3 separate regions of the Homo sapiens genome follow, and all the other regions are linked to region 3. The links are contacts of gene promoters, found by promoter capture Hi-C in human tissues and cell types (Jung and others, 2019). All regions are on one chromosome and are shown on one strand. The core of a region is centred on a gene start or on the middle of the fragment in contact, and the rest is flanking DNA. Distances in the headings are between cores, read along the strand shown.

Region 1 (4,312 bases), core at 118-2,617, 360 kb after region 3:
CATAATGTACCTAAATAAAATATAGAAGATCCCAGTCAGTAAGACCAGATGCTTTATCATCTTAGTCCCAGCCCAATCACTTACGGACTGTGAAGTAGAGATAGTTACCACCCACATTAAACTTCATCTCTAAGATGAAGAGCTATCACAGTCCATCAGCCCAGTATGCCATTCTGCTCTTCAGGTAAGAGCGTTTTCTGATTTTCAGACAAATATGTAAGAAAAGGACTCTTAGACAAAGCTCAATTTTAAGTTAGGAGCTGCCAAGATTGCTTAGGGAATTATTGCATTTTGTAAAGTGCCTAGAATTATTAAATTATAAGAAAATATCTGATGGGTGGTATATTTGTCAGATATATTGTTTAATATTTTGCCCATTTTCAAAGAAGATTCTTATGCTAGAAACAGGTTTTGCATTTCTAAAGCAATACTTTACGATGTAACTTGCCACAATGATCATCTCAAACATTAATGACAATGGTAGAGGCGATTTCAGTACAAGCACGTTGATGGCAGGTGTGGGCTGTCTACCAGCTGGCTCCATAACCTTTTGATCCCTTCGGACAGCAAATCTGTTCAACAGCCCTATGTGGTCATTCCTCATTTGTTGTAAGCTTTCTTCTCCTTTCATACGTTCAGAATCCCTACTCCCTTAGCCTGACACCCTTTTATTAAAATAGAAAGCTCACAGTAAAGCAAACTAAAACGAGTTTAACACTCAGTCAATGTAGAAGTTCCAGAAAAGATTAATGTATTATATCAAGAGTTGTCAGTGCATGTTTCAGTTACATGTAGAATGCATGTTTGTCTTTCACAAAAAAAAAAACAACAACAATAAATGACAAGATCAAAGTTTTAAGTAAGCCAGCATTTAGCTAATATATGAAGTACTCTGGGATACTATAATCAAATACAAAAGACTTACATAAATACAAAACTTAAATATACAACATAAACATAATACATAAACAGAAAGGTTTAAATATGACATAAGAACAGCCTACTTTATACTTAAACAGTGACCAGACCCATCAAAGAGTCATTTTCTTACAATTTTTGTGACTCCATTTTGTTGTCGTTAACTGTAACACGGCTGCAAAGAACAGTGTCTGAAAGCAATATTAGTTAAGCTAAGTATCTACTCATTCTTCCATCTTCATCCCCATTTAAGATCCAAGGATGCCAGAGCAAGCAAGATGGAATAAATAGTGATTAATATACGTTCTCACTTATAAGTGGGAGCTAAATTCTGAGTATGCAAAGTCACACAGAGTGATATAATGGATTATGGAGACTCAGAAGGGGAAGGGTGGAGGAAGGGTGAGGGATAAAAAAAGCTACGTATTGGGTATAATGTACAGCAATGTGCACCTTTACCCTCCAGGTGAAGGCTGCACTAAAATCTCACACTTTACCACCTTACACTCCATCTATGTAACCAAAAACCATTTATACACCAAAAGCTATTGAAATAAAAAATAATTTTTTAAAAAAAGGAATAAATAGTGGTTACAAGAATAAGTTTTGGAGTCTGTCACTTAGTAACTGAGGGACCTTCAGAAAATTCTTTAATCTCTCCTGGCCTCCCATTTACTCCTCTGAAAGAAAACAAAAGGCTGGGGGCAGAGGCAGGCCGTGATGGCAATAGTGGGTACTTTACAAGGTTATTGTAATGGTTAAATGAAATAACGTAGACCAGATACTTAGCAAAGCCTGACGCAGACAAAGTGTCCAATTAATGGTAGGTATTACTATTTTACTTATATTTTATTCTCTCTGGGCCTGCTAACACACCTCTCTCCAAACAACATACACAGTTCTGGCACTGCTTCAGGGAGTAATTTGTGGCTATATTTTGCCTTTACCTTGTAGCTAACTTATTCTCTTCTTCCCAGGAATAAAATAAAAAGGCATCCACTACAATTGCTAATGGCATCTCTTTTTCCCAACGTTTTTCTCTGTCAAGAATACAACCCTGTACTAATCTTTGGTGTTTTTCTTAGACCTTTATAAGCAATCAATAATCAAGTCTTAGAAATTATCTTTTATTCTACCCTATCTACATTTAGGTCTGGTTCCCATAACCTCCCTTCTGCAATAGCCTGCCAGCTAGTTATTCTACTTTAATCAATTTCCCTACTTCACACGAGTCCATTTGGAATAAAGATGTCTTAAAAGCACCAATGTCTCAATATTTCCATAATAGCATTCTTATTTTTAAAAAAATTCTTTAGTGATTTGCCATTGCCTATTTTCACCTTCAAACAACTCTGTAAATACTATAGTCATAGTTTGTCCTTAATTTTGGGGATCTTATATTCAATAAAGCTTATGATGAGATGATCATCTAACTATATTTTCTGGAATATTATAAAGTTAATGCCCACAAATTATGAACAAAGAACACTTTTTCCGGACTACCTTCTCATCTACTCAAAGACAAAGTTCTTTTCATCCCAATTTTATTTTTTTGAAACTCTTTTTTATATTCTGGAAATTTGAAAATCTGCACATATTTTTAAAACAATCTTAAGCCTAATAACTTAGAGTCTATATGTCTAGATGCCTTGTTTTTTTTTTTAACTTAATTTGCTTTATTAAAATAGAAAAATTTCCAGAAAGCAAATGATAACCTATATTCACTAAGTAAATATTTTATTGCTCAAACAATTAAGAATTTTCACTGGAGCTGTTAATGTGTGATACTTCGGCTATAAGTGAAATAAATATTTGCATTTTTATAGATTATAAAGTATTTAACAAAAGTATTATGCTTACTATGGGCTAGGAATTGTTCTACGCACTTAACAAAGATTAACTCATGCCACACACATAATAACCCTATAAAGTCCTATTATCATCTTTATTTCATCTGCGATAAAACTGAGACTAAGAAAGCTTAAGAAAAGTGCCCAAGGTCACATGCTTGATTAAACATCCACTAGAGTCACCACTGGCAAAGATCTGGTAGAGTTTAAACCAGATATAAAAGTTATAAACCTTTCTGAATTTTGTTTTCATTTTCCTTCTTGTATAATAATGTACTGTCCATCTTGACATGTGTAATGAGTATTTCATTACAAAGAATAACTGGTATTGGCAAAAGGTCATTTAAAATGAGTCCACCTAAAACCCAGGCCAAATTTTCATAATAAAAAGTTTTTTTTAAAGTTTCACTCACACTTTATCTTGCAAAACTGAAAATTTATCTTACAATGAATATAATTTAGGGTAAAATTTTAATTTTAATTCAATATAATTTAGGGTAAAATTTTTTAATCAATATAATTAAGAGCAAAATTAAAATTTTATTTGACTCAATTATATTGATTATAATTTAGTCACTTAGTAACTGAGGGACCTTAAAAAAATTATTTAGTAACTAAACTGTTTTTAGAAAAATATAAAACAAACCAAACAAAAATACAAAACCAACCAAATGATGAACTGGGAATGAGTATGCTCATTATGATAGCAAAATACAACTCTTTTCCAATGCACATTCAATGTAGCAACATAATTATAAAGCTTTTATTTTGCAAAAGAATATTCAAAAAATTTCAACAATTTTTCTAATCCTTTCAAATTATACTCTTTTGAAAGATTTATCCATCAAAATCCTTCCCAATTTTCTCTTTGTAAATATTGCCTGAGTCTAACTCTATCAGATCTTTGTTTTTCTAAGGATTCACAATCCCAACTTTAACTAGCAAGAGAGTTTGCCTTGTATCTGCACTTGCATATCATCAGATCCATATCGAACAAGCTGGCATCCATAAGCATAATAATGCAATGGGCGGAGGCACATGTTAGTACTAGAGTAGGATGTTTGATGGGGAATTCATTTATAAAAGTCAGTTCATTAATGAATATTTTGATATAGACAGCCTTTGCCTTTTGTTTTTTAAAGCAAGTTCCAAACTACAGAGATTCAGAAAATAATAAAGTGAATTTGAGGATCTGTTCTTTTCACTTTAAGGTCAGTGACTCATTTTTGTTGATGGGTAGTAGCATATATATTTGTGAGTACAGGTACCTTTTCTACATATTCCTGCAAAGCTTTGTAGAGAAGCATGAGAACTCTTACGTGATATGACGTGGTCTATGTACTGAGGTAAGTAAGGAGCCCAGGCATCAATGGCTTCCTTCCTGCCTGCCTGCTCAATTCTTCTCAGTTCCGCCAGAAGCAGGGCCTGCGCGGCTTCTCTCACCTAAGACCACAGACCCAAATGTAAAAGCAGAAAGCAGATTAGTTGAGGAGGTGAATATTCATAAACTAGAAAATTTATAATGAAATAAGGCTAGAAAACAT
Region 2 (4,786 bases), core at 855-3,354, 340 kb before region 3:
ATGGTCAACGGAGGCTCACACTCTATAGCCATTTTCCCATAATTTAATGGGTCCCTTTTTAAATTTTGAAACTTTAAACAGATCTGGGACAAATTCTTCTCTCTTTACCTCCTCCTTTCTTCCCTCATTATAGTCACCTTTCAATACCATCAAGCAGTCAACAGTATAGAACAAAGGATGCAAGTTCTGCAGGCCAGCATGTGAAATTTAAAGGTATTTTTAAATAGCAAGAATAAACACATCTGAGGCCAGGGTCTAAAGTGAGAAAAGACCCAGGACTGACTTGGATTCTGAGAACAAAACTGGATGGAAGAAAAGATACTGGAACTTGTTTTCACTCACTTTGGTGGAAGGATAGCTCCTCTTGTAATAATTCACTGACCAAGGAAGGATCTACAGTATCTGTGTTAATAAAGTATTGTCTGGGTGGAAAAATTTGAATAGAAAGAATGAAAAAAAATGGACCAGCTCTTTCCCTCTGGTCCAGGAGAACACTTTTGAGAAATGCAAAGATGAAGAAGAGAACTAATTGAAATGCTGGTCAATCCCTAATTATCTTTTCCTATGATGCTCTTTGGCATCCTAGACTTGGGGAGAAAAGACTGAACTGCTCTTGGATTGAGAAAGGTTAGGTGATCGAAGATACGAATTAAAAGAGAAACCAACACCAAGATTTTGCCTGTATCATCTCAGTCCCTGCATCTAAACTTTAGTGGTTATTTATCAAGTTATCAATGTGGAGCTTGTGTTTTTGTTTCAGAAATTTCAGTATGCCAGGTGTTTTACAACATTTCACGGTAAGAAGTTTGCTGGCACCACTTGGACTTGTGTAACACAAAACTGTAAAGAAAGGAAATAATATTCTACCTTCAAGGAAGTATCTGTTAATGGTATGACTACCTATCCGATTGCTAGTCTTCGGACTCTTTTCTTCCCAGGTGGCAGGTTCCTTGTCATAATCTGAAAAAACTTTCCTAGAGATAAAGCTGACTCTTATGCTAAAGGCCAAACTGGACCAAAGCAAAGGATATGGGGGGATAAAAACCTCAAACTCTACAACTTTTTGAATAGGATTTTCAAGCAGAGATAAAGTAGGCATTGATGGGCCATGTTTTTGGCTGGGGCAATAGCTGTGATTCAGCCTGTCGCCCAAGACAGATCAACAGCATAGGCAATGTGCACTGCCCCTGCCCCCTGAGATGGGAGCAAAGCACAGGGAGATAGTGGGGTCTCCTTTTCCCTCTTGTATTTTTCCAGATCAAAGAATTGAGAATTGCTAAAATATAACCTAGCAAACAATAGGAAACCCCATTCCATACCTTTCTTTGTTTTCTAAATAATCATCTCCAAAAGGTATAGATGGGATAGCTAAACAGGATGCAGAGGATGGTGGGAGGGGGACTTCTGATGTGGAAGAGCCCCACTGGATGGAGGGGACCTGGATCCTTTGCAACCCCAGGATGGAGGAAGAAGCCTTTGGTAATGTCCCATGTAAAGCCACCAGATGGGCTGCAATAGCCTTGACTGGATAGTGTGCAAGGTGGGGAAAGGTGAGTGCCTGGTGGCCCACAGAAGATTCAAGGTTACTATTTTCTTTTTCTTGCCTTTCATGTATGAACTGGAGTCTGCCTTCATGCTGGCACATGCTCAAGACCAAAGGATTGCAGGGAAGTGTTGGAGTCCAGAGAGAGTGAGGTTAGAGATTTTTGGCCCAGTTCTCTTTAAAGCTGACAGATACAGAGATTTCTTCCTAGTACCAAAACCTACCTTCCAGCCCATGACCTGCCTTTTCCCAGGCCAGGCCCATGTTTCCCCAAGAGGGCAGGAGAGAAAACCAGGCCAAGCTGAGGTAATTTTGTAGTTATGTGTCTCCAAGGAAAAGGACATCCATTGGCACAAAGCACTGAGTAAAAACCCTTTAATAACAAAATAACATTCATGATGTAGCTACTTCAGTTGTCTGGAAAACTCAGCTTACACTTGATTCAACATACCACTTTCCACAATGTTAAAAGAAAAGGACATAAAATGGCATAACAAAATATACCTTGGGTTTCATAAGACAAGTCTTCTTGGCAAAGTGTAACCAGCCAGACCCATGCATTGCCTGTGATTAAAAAAAGGGCTGGGTACACTCATGTCTCAAATACTCCTCTACTTTCTTTGGATCAAAAATGGATTTGAACTTTGTAGATTCTACAATATCTGCATTAAGAGGAACAGTTTGTGGGTTTGTGAGTGTCAGGAAAACTTTGCTGAAACAAATATCAATTTTATTGTGGAACAACATATAAAGCTTTCTGGAAGATTAAACACTATTACAATCATCAATTGTCTTACAAAAGCCAATTTGAAAAATTCTTGTATCTGTTCCCATCTTTGGCAGATTAATAAGAGAAAAATAAAAAGACTATATATCAAAGTTTACATTACCACAACCTAATTTATAAGGCCAAATAAAAATATGTTGCTTTTTATTATTCACGAGAGCACGTTCCCAATATACCCTCATTGACAGATAATATGAATGCTACACTGTCAGTGATTTCCAATATTTTGCATAGCAGACTGCTGCTTTTCAACCAAGGTTCCCTAGGCTGCATACTCCTATGCAAAATAAAGTGTGCTTGGCAGTTGATTTGGCTTTATGTCAAGCATTTTGGTTTGGGAAATATGAAACTGGAGAATGGGTCTTTGAACCCAAGTATAAGAAAGAACAAGTTTGCCCAATCCCCTGCAACTGAAAAATAGTTTTGACATATAGAGGCCTCAGATAATTGAAGGATTTAAAGAAGATGGTTTTCCTAAAGTGGGTTTCAAAACTTCTTCTTATATTACCTTTTAGATGGTAGATGGAACATTGTTGGGCAGGTAAAAATTAAGTGAGAGTCACCTCCAAGTCTAGGGAGGGACAGCCATGATAGCTGCACATGTGAAGTTTTGGGAAATGGCTGCGTATTTTTGCCCAAATCACTGGAACAGTTGGTGGGAATGTCTAGGAGAGTGGACAAAAGAGAAGTGGGCAGAGAAGAGTTAGTAATATTGATGCCATTTGAGTTTCTACTGGGAGCTGACCTGATCACAAAATACGAGAAGAAACCACGCATAGTCAAAAATAGCCATTCCCAAGCAGAGATCAAAGAGGGCCACAGCTAGATGAATTTGCATCTACATATACATGGCCAGTTAGGTCTAAGTTCATGAGCATAAAGCCAAAATAACTCCTTTTGGTGGAAATTAAATATGCAAAGGTGAGTTTTTCAATACTCGCTTTCAAATCCCTCTCACATACGGTGATATATTTGGGTTATGAGGATCCCAATTTGTGGAATGCAAATTGGCTAACTCAAAAATTAGGAATAACGTTTCTCATTATAAAGCTGGAACCCAATTCAATGTGACTCATTTTCAGATCCCAACAGATGTAAAGGGTATTTTCGAGGTGACACATCTCCCAATAAAACCAATATTACCACCGTCTGAGGCTGAACTGTGTACATTTTCACAGTTTAATGTATACACAACTGTTCCACAACTGCTAACAAACAATAGGCGCCCATGCATAAATAAAGTCCATTGAACCAAAGGGGAAGATCTAGTTCAAAATGAAAAATGTTGCTATTAAGACCACAATGCATCACACTGCTAAATTTTTAGCCTCATGCATAAAATTATAGCACTGATTGGCAGTTGCTAATCATAATACTACACTGTTAACACGGAACAATTAATTGTTCAGACCAAGTGGCACAAATGTAGAAAATAATTATTCTTTTCAACAGAGCAAATGAACACAGATTGTTTCTTCAGCAAAATATGAAACTGTAAACTTTGGGCTCATTCTGCAACTTTCCCCAATCCAGCATAAATAAAATCCAAAGGGGGAAAAAAACATACATTTTCTTTTTAAGCGCACCTTTTTTCATCTATTACAAAAGCACAACCTAAAACGTATAAAGCTTTTTTTTCTTTTTTCTTTTTTTAAATCACAGTTACCAAAAGAAACAGTGAATAATTTATTACATACGCTATAATAACATTACTCTAAACACTATTGTCTATGAGGTATATCTGAGAAAATTCGGTAAGGAATTGCGCGGTCTGCATTGCCAACATGCCCAGGTTCATAGTAAAGCTTTGGAACCGTGAAGAACTAGAAAAAAGGGAAGAACGAGGGAGGCAGAGGAGGAGACATAGAGAAAGAACCTTTGGTATTAGTACAAATCTTGTTCTTTGCAGGGTTGCATTGCAAAGCACCACAGTACAATAAGCCCACCAACTGACTGTATGGAGGCCCAGTTGAAGCTGAGGTATTCACAGGAAGAATTAAAAAAAGCACAGAGAGGTCCAGACTGGCTAAATCGTTGCTTTGGTTCAAGCAAGGCACTCGTCCCGTGGTTATGTCACACTTTGCAAGTGAAGCATGAGGCTGGGGGGATTGCTGAGGAGAGGTCTGCCAAGTGGGGATGTTTTCTGTGTTCAGGCTGCCATCGCTCTTTCTAGATCCTCTCTCGTATGGGTGTGGCAGTAGGAAAGATGGGGAAGGTGATGTTCACTTATAGGGAGCTCTGCTGCTCAATGAATTAAGTCATCTTTGCTCTGTCTCCCAGGGATTCTGAGAGTTCTAATTCCAATAGGAATTTAGGAAGAAAACCAAAGCAATGTACTCTTTGGAAGGAAGGCCTTACAGGTTTGCCTTGTATAGGGAGAAGATGGGCCTTGAGCTTGTTTGGACAGGAGGGAACTTTCACATAGGATGGTGCTTGAAAACTTCAGAAAGAGAGTA
Region 3 (4,535 bases), core at 232-2,731:
ACTTTTCAAATAAAACACAAATGTGAGCATAACATAAACACACCCAAGACTCACTAGCCCCTGCAAGACAGGAAGCATTCTTGGACAGAGAGTCTGCAAATGAGTTTCCTTATACCTAATGTCTGAACTTCTCACTCATTCTAGGGTTTCATGCTTTGTTATCTCTTACAAAGGAAAGGAAACTGGCTAGAAGATTCATGTACAAGAAGGTCACAACTTCAAAGCTATCTGACACTAATGTTGTGTACAATCTAGTTTGCAACTCTGAGAGACAATATCAAATAAGTACTGTCAAATATTCCTCCCAGTTAACCTTTACTGTCATTGTTCTTTGAAATTGTCTTTGGGATTGGTTATGTTCTCTCGCTGTAGCTTTCGTTTATCTCAGAGCACAAACCCTAAAATCCATGTGCAGTCTCCATGTTCAAGTATAGATGTCTGTTTCAGGACAATCCTGGGTCGCGGTAGTGTTTCCCTCTCTGTAGTGTGTGTTTGGTGTCATGCCCTTGGAAAGGCTGGCCAAATGGCAGCGCAATGCAGGAGGGTGCCACGGTCAACTTTCTCTCTGGCGAACTTGCTTCCCTTTCAATCTGGTCACTGCTCATGGTCGAGGTGGAAATCTTGAGCTCAGTGATGAACTTGGCTTATCTTCAATCTGAAACTGCACTCTTATGTAACCGAATCCATTTCTTCACCAAAAATTAAATAGCGCTTTCAAAAGCTGTCAGGCATATTCTTAGGAAGTGTCCTGAGACGGAGCTGGAGGGTCCTGGCCTTCTGGCTCTGGAGGGAGTGCTGGCACAGCTGCTTCTTTCTGGGCCACCAGGAATTCATGAATTATTTGTTCTATTTGTGGCCTGAAGATGTGGTTTAGTTTTGGATCCACCACCTGAGAACTAATCCTGTCCACTCCAGCTTCTGACCTCCCTGACTGAACCACACTCTGCCTCAGACCATCGTGCAGTTGGTTGTCGTTTGCTGGAGGATTCCATTCCTGCTTGTCCAGATGTGTCGACACAAAATTATCCGCTTTCTGGCTCAGGTTTTGGTAAGCTGGCTTGGTGTCCACGTCAGCCTTGCAGTCCCGGCGGAAGCTGTCAAAAAGGCCCCTGCTCTTGAGCTGCCCCACGATGATAGCGATGAGCTGAGGGTCGCCAGGGGGCAACGAGGCCGGGTTGATGGGGCCGCCGCCCCCGCTGGCCCGGGTCGAGGCCGGGCCCGCACCGCCGCTGCCGCCGCCGCCACCGTCCGCCATGGCTGCGCACCGGGCCCACAAGGAAACCGATTATAGCTTCTTCTCCAGGACAGAAAGCCTAGAATGTGTAGAGGTGGCTAAGGGGGCGGTGAAGGAGGAGGGCCCCAAGGAGGCAGCGGCGGAGGTGACGGTGGTGGTGATGGCGGCGGGGCCGGTGGTTGGGGCGGCGGTGGGGGAGGCCAGCTCCAGACCGCGGAGGTTGTGGAAGACGCGGCAGCAACCGCCTGCTGGATTCCAAGCGCGCTCCAGATGGCGTCACCGTTGACCTTTGCATTGTGAGGCGGGAACCGTAATCTGCATTTCTTAAAAGATCTCTAAGAGGGAGGTGGGAAACAAATGCCAGTGGGCAAGGGCGAAACAGGGAGACAATTTCAGCAACCATTTCAGTGCCCTAAGAAGGAGATGGCGAGGAGTGAATGATCTTCGTGGCCTGGCAGGTGAAGAAGGTAACAGGGATACAAGAGATATTTAGGAGATAGACTCATCCCAGGGATTGGAGAACAACGGGGTGAGGGACGAGGGAAAGGAGAGGGTCAAGGATGACCCCCAGGCTTCTCACTTGGGCAGGTGCATGGAGGTGCCATTTACTAAATGGAGAACAGGTATAGAGGTGAGGATGGGAGACAGAGACATGATCGTGCATTCCATTTTTATTTACTAGTTTAAGATGGGTATGGGTTATTCAGATGCAGACATCTGCCTATGAAGTCCAAAGATACAAGGACTAGGGGCTGGGGAGAGACATCTAACTCACTGAAGGTAGAGACTATAGGTGGCAATTACAATGGAGAACTTAGAAGAGATAGAGGAACACCTGGAGAGCCCATGAGGGGGACTGAGAACAACACTAAAAAGATGGAGGGAAAACTACAAAAGCCTTGGATCATAGACCGCAAAAGGTACATTTCATGAAGGCCATGGGTGAAATGCCACACTATGTTCCACAAGGTGTCCATTGGCTTTGGTAGCCATTGATGAGCCTAGGGCAGATGTGTCAGTCAGAAGGAGGTCATTTCAACAAGAGAACTGTATTGCAACCAAGAGCCACAAAAGGCAACCACATCCAGCGCCATCCAATAGAGAAGTGCAGGTGCACAGAAAGAACCTTCTATCAATATTTCAAAAGAAAAGCAGATCCCTGATTTCACCCCAACACTCACTTCCCTGAATTAAAATGCCCCTGAGATGTAGACACCACATTGTTCTATAAGCCGTAACATAGCTTAAAGGTAGTATATTTCACAAAGAAAGTTTACACAACAGACTCTGTCAATAACCTCACCCCATAGCTTCTGACATACAAGTACAGATGCCTCAGATGGACGTATTCTGAATCTCATCCCACAGGAGACAGTGAACCTACCAAGACTTCACCACAGCAACCCCCTACCTATGCTCCTCACCATCCCCATGATCAGCTCGACAATTCAGTTCTGTATTTTTTTAAATTAATCAATATTTATTGAGGGACTAGTCGATGTGGCCCTGTGCTAAGCTTTATGGAGCTCTCCACGTGCCTGGCCCAGTCTAACACTCAATAAATGTTTGCTGTGGCTGTTGTTTAAGACAGGCAACATGGCCAGCCTTTGAAAAGCTTACAATCTAGTTGGAGAGGGGAGATGTTGACAGAGAAAACCATTGAGGACATACACAAGCTCCATGGGAACTTAGATGCAACATGCACACCTAGCATGGTGCCTGGAACAAAAGAGAGGCACCATTAATATTTGCAGAATAAAGATTGCATAGATGAAAGGAGGGTGTCCCTGTCATGTGTTGGAGAACACTGAAGCCTGGGAGAACGTGGCAGATGGAAGAAGACTTTGCAGAAGTGCTGGAGCCTGAACTGAGTCTTCATTTATCCCCTCACTGTGCATGAGCCCTTCAGATTGCACAGGAGTTCTCTTAGAATGCAATCACCTATGTGGATCCAAGATGAGATCTATGGGGTTCTCCAATCACAGCCTCACCCACAGAGGGACACTTACCTAAGCTTTTGAAAGTGATGATAATAACAATCATATTGCAGTGTTCCATTCTGTACTGAAAAATGTTCACTGTCAAACACCTTTTCTCCACATCCTCCCCAAGTCTTAAATAGTGTGCTGGCATGGTTTTTCTGAATAGCTGACTTGTGTATTATTTGTAATCATAAACATTAAGTTACCATAATTATCCCATCACCTTGGATCAGGGTTTAGGGCACAGGACAGTTCTCACCTCTCACCGAGGCTTCAAACCACTGCTCCCGGTTGCCTGGCAAACTATAAGGCCACTAGAGTAACTTCCCTGACCTCTAGCTGACCTGCAGGGATCAATGAACAATTAATTACTATCATCCCACTCCGGGAGAGATAGCACACTGCCATTTCTCAATTACAACTGGAAGTGCCCCTTGGCTGACAGCTGCCTGTCGGACAAGGCAAGCCCCATGCTGATTCAAACCAGTGCCTCCCACCGCAACTACACACACAGATACACACAGGCACATGCCATCTAACTCAGACCACATCCATTCCCCCACCACACCCACCCACAATCACACAGATCACACCATCTTCCCACCCACTAATCCCACACCCGCAATCACACTAGTGTCAGACTCTGAAATGTAGATACCAGAGTGTTCTATGATCCTTAGCATAACTCAGAGATTGTATATTTCACCAAGAAAATATTACAGACTCTGTCAATAATCTCATATCATAGCTTCTAACATGCAAGGATGCCTAGGAGGGATGACATTCTGAATATTACCTGGTAGGAAACAGTCAATAGTCTTTATCAGTATCAATTTTCCTCATGTATTACATAGGCACCTAGACCAGTATTGTTCAAGGGTAGGGATGACCCTTGCCTTTATGACTCAGGAAGACTTTGTCTTTGCTATACTTCTTGTGACATCTCTACAGGTAAAACTTTTGGTGTTTTCTACCTTCATCTCTTCCTACATCTTTAGTGTCCCCTCCACCCCCATCCTAACGCTCTGTGTTCTGTTTCCTTCCCAGTCACCTTGACCACATCACTTATACCTTTCTTAGCTCCTCCCCAAATACCAAAGCACTTTCTGCATATTCACTCCTTTCCAGCCCACTTCTCTCCACTTCTGATAAAGGAAAAAACTGGACTAATCAACTCAAATTGAAATGTTTCTGGCTGCTGACAGCTTCAGCTACCACTCCTGGAGTTAATCCTAAAATTCAGAAGAGTAAATATACTGGAACCTCAGAGGTTCCAGTTCTGCTTGAAGGTGGGAGTGGGCTACTTTTGCTCATAGAGG

Evidence for each region. Contacts are between HindIII fragments. The study calls those that stand out against the background at their distance.
Region 1: a fragment that was not itself captured here is called in contact with the fragment with the promoter of BOD1L2 in region 3 in 4 of the 25 tissues and cell types used here (IMR-90 fibroblasts, hippocampus, mesenchymal stem cells and 1 more).
Region 2: a fragment that was not itself captured here is called in contact with the fragment with the promoter of BOD1L2 in region 3 in 1 of the 25 tissues and cell types used here (liver).

The regions. Positions count from the first base shown.
Region 1 is chr18:56,781,432-56,785,743 of GRCh38, reverse strand. WDR7 (WD repeat domain 7) reads right to left here. Exons shown (of 28, transcript NM_015285.3): 19 at 4,088-4,211. Among named protein-coding and RNA genes, the nearest start is that of WDR7, 130 kb to the right of the region's middle. The HindIII fragment of the contact is 4,854 bases long and covers 1-3,794 here.
Region 2 is chr18:57,485,803-57,490,588 of GRCh38, reverse strand. ONECUT2 (one cut homeobox 2) reads right to left here. Exons shown (of 2, transcript NM_004852.3): 2 at 1-4,786. Among named protein-coding and RNA genes, the nearest start is that of ONECUT2, 53 kb to the right of the region's middle. The HindIII fragment of the contact is 3,886 bases long and covers 162-4,047 here.
Region 3 is chr18:57,144,033-57,148,567 of GRCh38, reverse strand. It overlaps BOD1L2 (biorientation of chromosomes in cell division 1 like 2), which reads right to left and starts at 1,481. Exons shown (of 1, transcript NM_001257964.2): 1 at 1-1,481. The coding sequence starts at 1,255. The coding sequence ends at 737. RefSeq lists an enhancer at 717-1,312. The HindIII fragment of the contact is 20,182 bases long and covers 1-3,049 here.